2 separate regions of the Homo sapiens genome follow, and region 1 is linked to region 2. Evidence: promoter capture Hi-C in human tissues and cell types (Jung and others, 2019). All regions are on one chromosome and are shown on one strand. The core of a region is centred on a gene start or on the middle of the fragment in contact, and the rest is flanking DNA. Distances in the headings are between cores, read along the strand shown.

Evidence for each region. Contacts are between HindIII fragments. The study calls those that stand out against the background at their distance.
Region 1: a contact is called between the fragment with the promoter of MDM4 here and a fragment that was not itself captured in region 2, in 1 of the 25 tissues and cell types used here (bladder).

The regions. Positions count from the first base shown.
Region 1 is chr1:204,514,779-204,518,321 of GRCh38, forward strand. It overlaps MDM4 (MDM4 regulator of p53), which reads left to right and starts at 1,628. Exons shown (of 11, transcript NM_002393.5): 1 at 1,628-1,731. RefSeq lists enhancers at 110-1,021, 882-2,081, 1,022-1,932, 1,371-1,500, 1,511-1,590 and 1 more. The HindIII fragment of the contact is 11,632 bases long and covers 1-3,543 here.
Region 2 is chr1:204,364,130-204,367,501 of GRCh38, forward strand. It overlaps a transcript of PLEKHA6 not described here. Among named protein-coding and RNA genes, the nearest start is that of LINC00628, 3.9 kb to the right of the region's middle. The HindIII fragment of the contact is 5,440 bases long and covers 1-3,372 here.

The DNA.
Region 1 (3,543 bases), core at 378-2,877, 150 kb after region 2:
TTCAGCTCCTTAATGGAACCCTGGATCTCCCAGCTATGCAGGAGGTTATGCTAGAAGTAGAACAAAGCGGAATGTACAAATTTAAGGAAGGTTACTGCCCTGTGTTCTTTTGCATGGGTCTGTATCTAGCATTGGGAGCCAGGTTTTGTTGTTGCTTATTGGGAGAGATAAGAATGGTATATACACAAATAACTAAAAAAAAAATACGTGGTAAATGCTAAAAGACAGGTGCAAAGAACACTGAGATGGAGCTTTCTTGGGTTACACAGCCAGTTTTAATGTTTCCTAATATAGAAGAGCTTTCAACAAACCTCTCAGGCAGGCTGTCTTCAAATGACATTACTTCCCCCAAATACCTAATTTCATTTATTTCAGAACAACTCTAAATGTTAGAGGATTTTCTGAGCTTAAAAATACTGCCTTGTAATTTCTATTGGTTTTAGTTCTGCACTTTGGAGAAGAGAATAAGGCTCCGTTATTTCCAATATTATACTATTCAGTTATTTGAAGACAGCTTCCAATTTCTATGCTCAACCCTTTCCCTCTTTTTTTTTTTTTTTTTTTTTGAGATGCAGTTTCGCTCTTGTCGCCCAGGCTGGAGTGCAATGGCGCTATCTCGGCTCACTGCAACCTCCGCCACCCGGGTTCAAACGATTCTCCTGCCTCGGCCTCCTAAGTAGCTGGGATTACAGGTGACCGCCACCATGCCCCGCTAATTTTTTGTATTTTTAGTAGAAACGGGGGTTTCGCCATGTTGGGCAGGATGGTCTCGAACTGCTGACCTCAGGTGATCCGCCCGCCTCGGCCTCCCAAAGTGCGCTGGGATTACAGGGGAGAGCCACTGCGCCCGGCCTCCCTCGTTTATATGCAGGTTAAAAACTCCCTTGAGCCTTCAACTATTTCTTTTTCTTTTTTTTTTTTTTTTTTGAGGAGTTTCGCTCTTGTTGCCCAGGCTGGAATGGCGCTATCTCGGCTCACTGCAACCTCCGCCTCCCAAGTTCAAACGATTCTCCTGAGTAGCTGGGATTACAGGCATGCGCCACCACACCCGACTAATTTTGTATTTTTAGTAGAAACAGGGTTTCACCATATTGGTCAGACTGGTCTCGAACTCCTGACCTCAGGTGATCCGCCTGCCTTAGGCCTCCCAAAGTGCTGGGATTACAGGCGTGAGCCACAGCGGCTGGTGCTTTCAACTATTTATTTGACATGGCTTCAAGCTTCCTTGCCACCCTAGTGCCGCCATCGCTCCGTTTCCCTTCCCTACCACCCTTGGGGAGTAAGGGTGAGGACTGGGGAATGGCAGAGGAAGCGTAGTTTTTCCGAAGAGCTGAAGGCAGCCTGTGATTATGACCTTAGCTCTTCCTCTTCTCTGTTTTCTGATCTCCTAATACACGTCTGTAAATATCACAAGACCCTGCAAGTCCCTCACTTATTATCTCTTCAAATCTGACGACTTTCAACCGTTCGGGCCCCACGACTCTCTCCCCGGACTAGGATCTACTCTATGGTAGTGAGCTCAGCCTTTCTAGCTCTCTAGTCCTCCCATTGCTCCATCTATGGTTTCCGGAGGCCTCACCGGAAGCCCTCGTGTGAGGCCGTGTGGGAGGCCGGAAGTTGCGGCTTCATTACTCGCCATTTCAAAATGCTGCCGAGGCCCTAGGATCTGTGACTGCCACCCCTCCCCCCACCCGGGCTCGGCGGGGGAGCGACTCATGGAGCTGCCGTAAGGTGTGGCTCTTGGCCTTCGTCGGCGGGGTGCCGGGAGCGGGAGCTGGAGAGTGAGGAGCAGGCGGCCGTACCGCCAGTTGTGCGGGTAGCGGGCGGGAGGAGCTTGAGAGGTGGGTCGGGCGGCGTGGGGAAGGCCGCGCCAGGCGGAAGAAGGGCTCGGGGGGAGGGGAAGAGTTGTGGGATGAGGGCTCGCGGAAGATAAAAGTGGAGGTGGGGTGACGTGAAGTAACTTTGGCCAACAGGTGACAAACCTAAAGTCGACGTAGTTGGATTGAGTTTAACTGGACACAACATTTGAGGACTGTTGAGGCAATTTGGAGAAAGGAGGTGGGAGAGAGGGAACCGGGTAGAATGACATTGACGTGTCTTAAGTTTTTAAGTTAGTTTTTAGGTCTGCGGACAGTCTACCTTAGAGGCACTTGAGTGCTTGTTTGAAAATGCTTGTTTTGGCTTGGCGCGGTGGCTCACGCCTGTAATCCCAGCACTTCAGGAGGCCGAGGTGGGTGGATCTACCTGAGGACAGGAGTTCGAGACCAACCTGGCCAACCTGGTGAAACCCCGTCTCTAGTAAAAATACAAAAATATTAGATGTGTGTGGTGGCGCATGCCTGTAATCCTAGCTACTCGGGAGGCTGAGGCAGGAGAATCACTTGAATCCGTGGGCGGGGGTTGCAGTGAGTCGAGATCGCGCCACTGCACTCCAGCTTGGGCTACAGAGGGAGATTCCGTCTCAAAAAAAAAAAAAGAAAAAATGTTCGTTTTGGGGCCACACTGAAACCTACAGACAGTATCGAGATGGGGCTCAGAGAAATATATTTTAATGAGCACACCTCCCAGTGATTTTTGTATACCTTAAAGCTTGAAAACCACAGGTTTTTTTGGTTGTGTTTTTGTTTTGTTTTTGTTTTTTTTGAGTGGAGTTTCGCTCTTTTTGCCCAGGCTGGCGTGCAGTGGCGCGATCTTGGCTCACTGCAACTTCTGCCTCACGGGTTCAAGTGATTCTTCTGCCTCAGCCTCCCGGGTCGCTGGGATTACAGGTGTGCGCCACCACGCCTGGCTAATTTTGTGTTTTATTAGAGATGAGGTTTCACCAGGTTGGCCAGGCTGTTCTCGAACTCCAGACCTCAGGTGATCCGCCCACCTCGGCCTCCGAAAGTGTTGGGATTACAGGCGTGAGCCACCGTGCCCGGCCGAAAACCACAGTTTAAAAGCAACACCCGGAGAAAATGCTGCAGCTCTGTGCTGTTGGCACGTGGAACTAGTATCTGTCAAAGATACTTGGAACCTCTTGGTGTTAAGTATTACTGTATCTCAGTTTAGATTTAGTCTTCTCTCTCCTCATACATTTTTTTTTTAATAGATGGGATTTCGGCCAGGCCCAGTGGCTCACACCTTTAATCCCAGCACTTTGGGAGGCCAAGGGGGCAGGTTTGCTTGAGTCTCGGAGTTCGACACCAGCCTAGGCAACAAACTGAGCCCCATCTCTGCAAAAAATAAAAAAATCAGTGTCATAGAGCGAGCTTCCAGTCCCAGCTACCCAAGAGACTGAGGTGGGAGGATTGCTTGATCCCAGGAGGTAAAGGCTGCAGCAAGCCGGGATGGAGCTACTGCACTCTAGCTTAGGCGACAGCGCGAGAGCCTGTCTCAAAAAAAGAGATGAGGTCTCACTGTGTGCTCAGGCTGCAGTGCAGTGGCTATTCACAGGTGTGATCATTGCACACTACAGCCTGAAACTCCTGGACTCTAGGGATCCTCCTGCCTCAGCCCTCCGGAATAGCTGGGACTACAGGCACAGGCCACCGGCTGCAGTTG
Region 2 (3,372 bases), core at 244-2,743:
CAAAATAACTCCTCCGGTTGTCTGGCTCTTATTATTACTTGGAATCCATGTCTGAAGTCGTTTGAGTTTCTAACTCATCCACCAACCAAATGTCATAAACCTTTGTGGGAACTGTGAAAATAGGAACGAACGGTGAGCCAGTCGTTCATTCATTCACTCACTCATTCAGCAAGAACTTACTGAGCACTTCGTTTGTCCAAGCAAGGTGCCAAGGATGCTGGGAAGCAGCCGTGCCATCATGCTAAGAGCAAAGCCTGTGAAATCAGGCACACATGAGGCCGCCTTCCCGCTTGCTTTCTATTAATACAAGCTTTGTGACATTGAGTAATACATACGAAGAACCAGTTTTCCCATTATTTGCTAAAAGCGGGATGATAGAACCTCCTCATAAAGGTGCGGTGAGGAATAAATGAGATAATGTCATAAAGCACTTAGCTCCTAGAGTGGCGGCTGCTGCTATGATATACAGAATGACCACCAGGTCTGGAAATGTATGTGAACACAGAATTCATGGCTGGTTGATAATTAAACAATATTGCCTGTGTCTCCGGACTTTACGACCCCCCTGTGTTGCCCCTGCCCTTGATGAGTTTTCAGTCTAGGCTACTGGTTCTCGAAGTGTGGGCCCCAGAGCAGCCACAGCAGCATAACCTGAGAATGTGTTGGAAGTGCAAATTCTAGACCCTCTGAATCCGAAACTCTAGGGGTAGGGCCCAGCCATCTGTGCTCCAACAAACCCTCCAGTGATTGTGATACACGCTCCAGTTGGAGAGTTACTAATCTAGTGGAAAATGACACAAGTATAAGCAAATAACTACCATACACGGACACATCCCTGAAGAAGTGACATCATGGGCAGGGCTTGAAGGAAGAACAAGTGTTCTCAGGTGGGCATGAGCCACATGAGGAGAGATTGGCACCTACAAAGCCCCGGAAGCATGAAAGGGAAGCGAATGTTGAGGGAACCACAAGTGATTTGGCAGGGCTAGAGGAGAGGGCTAAAGAGCCAGGTGGGGAGTGTGGGAGGTGAGGCTGGGAAGGGGGGCGGGAGCGAGACTATGATGCCCTTTACGTGCCCAGATAGGGAATTTAGATTTTATCCTGTAAGTGACGGGTAACATGCAAAGTTTTTAATGGAGAATAATATGACCAAATTTGAATTCTAGAAAGAAAGCACTCTTGCAGCATTATGGCCTGGAGGCAGGAAGATCAGTTGGAAAGCTTCTACAATAATGGAAGTGAGAGTCCATGTGGGCCTGAACTCAGGCCATGGCTATGGAGATATCGAGAAGTGGGTGGGTTGAGAGATATTTGGGAGGAGAATTGACAGGACCCATGGGGGAGGCATGAGAGCGGGAAAGGTTGAGGGTATCTCCGAGGGCTCTGCTTTGCTGGTATTTCTAGAAAAGATGGAACCGGCACAGAGAAGCAATGACTTCAAGTCTGGACACAATGAATTGAGGGAGCTCAGAAGAAAGCTCTGGGCTGGTAGCTGAAGCAGAAATCAATTATGCCTGTGTTGTTTGTCTCCCAATGTTTATCATGCATGCATTCATTTCAGGAAATACTGGATTGCTATCATGCACCAGAAAGGTTCTAGGAGGGAGTGAAAAACACAATAGCCAGAATCTGCTCCCAGGACTTACACAGCAGTGGGGGGACCAGAAATACATAACCAAACAGATACATAAACAAACGTGTTTCAGGTAGTGCCAGGTGCTGTGAAGAAAAGTAAGAGTAAGAGTGTGGAGGGGTGGGGGAATTCAGGCAGAGCAGTCAGGCATGGCCTCTCTGAGGAGGTGACATGGGCTAATCGAGAAGTCGGAACCAGGTGTGTGGAAATGGGAGGACAGTGCTCCCAGGCAGGGGGAACAGCAAGCGCCAAGGCTCTGAGGTGGGAATGGGTTTGACATGATGGTGGGAAGGAAAGATGGCAGCACAGCCAGCCAGTCATGGGACACGAGGTCAGAGAGGTGGACAGGTACGTTTCTAGGGACTGGTGAGATGCCGTAATACATGTGAAAGTGTTTAGTGAACAATCTCTAGAGCCATGTACCAAAAGGAATATGAAGATGGTATCTGCAAGAGGGAGAAAAGAAGAAACAATTCACAATTCTTAACTGAAGCAAGAAGCATTTGGGTCCAAACAGGAAAAATTCAGTCTATAACTGTCATGTGATATTAGAATAATTTCCAGAACAGATACTTTGAAAGGAAGACGAAGAAGGAGGAAGAGCAGGAAGAAGAGGAGAAAGAGGAGGAGGAGAAGGAGGAGGAACAAAAGAAAAAGAAAAAGAAGAAAAGAAAGAAAAGAAAAATTTGCTTTCGCTTTAAGAATATGGTTAACAGGCCCAGGCATGGTGGCTCACGCCTGTAATCCCAGCACTTTGGGAGGCCAAGGTGGATGGATCCCTGGAGGCCAGGTGTTCGAGACCAGCCTGGCCAACATGACAAAACCCCATCTTGACCAAAAATACAAAAATTAGCCAGGCATGGTGGTGGGCACCTGTAGTCCCAGCTACTCAGGAGGCAGAGGCACGAGAATCTCTTGAACCCCGGAGATGGAAATTGCAGTGAACTGAGATCGCACCACTGCACTCCAGCCTGGGTGACAGAGTGAGACCCTATCTTAAAAAAAAGAAAAAATAGGTTAGCGGCTAAGCTGATGTAGGTGGTAGATGGTGGCAGATCTAAGTGCTGGCAGATCTTGGCGGTGGGGGATTGGAAACGTAACCCCTCCTAGTACAGATGGATGAGGATTTCAAAGCAGAGAGGGACGGAAAGGGGATGAGACAAGGGTCCTCCCTGCCCTGGCTAGACTGGGGCTCCCTCTGGTGGTGCCATTGCCCCAGGAGGCTGGGCAGAGGCGCTTCACCATCCCTGCAGAATCTGAGGCCAGACCAGAAGGTGAGGCCCACAGGCCTGGGCACGCTGAGCCTCACCCTTGCGAATGAAACCAGATGGAGAGACCCAGGCCAAGGCAGAGAGAAGTGAGTTCAACTGGGTAGCTCATGCACCACCCCAGCCCAAAGAGCTCTGTCTTCTGCTTCCAAGATTAAGTCCAGGGCAACTTCCCAAGGCACACCTTTAGCCACGGCAGGAAATAAGGGCTCCCCAGCCCACAGAGGGGCCTGACCAACTCCTAGGAGGAAAATAGGGCATCTCCGCCCACACAAACCACCCCCAGAATCGCAGATGCCCCCATCCACAAGAGCAAGAGTGACCGGAGCTGGCCTTGCCACCACCAGTCTGATGTCCTCCTTCGTACACCCCACGGACACCTTCCCTTCCCACTGCCTCCACATCCTGCCCCGCGGCTGCGTCTCCTGCCTCTGAACCTCTGCCTGTGTGTCTAGAACAGCCTCGTTCCTC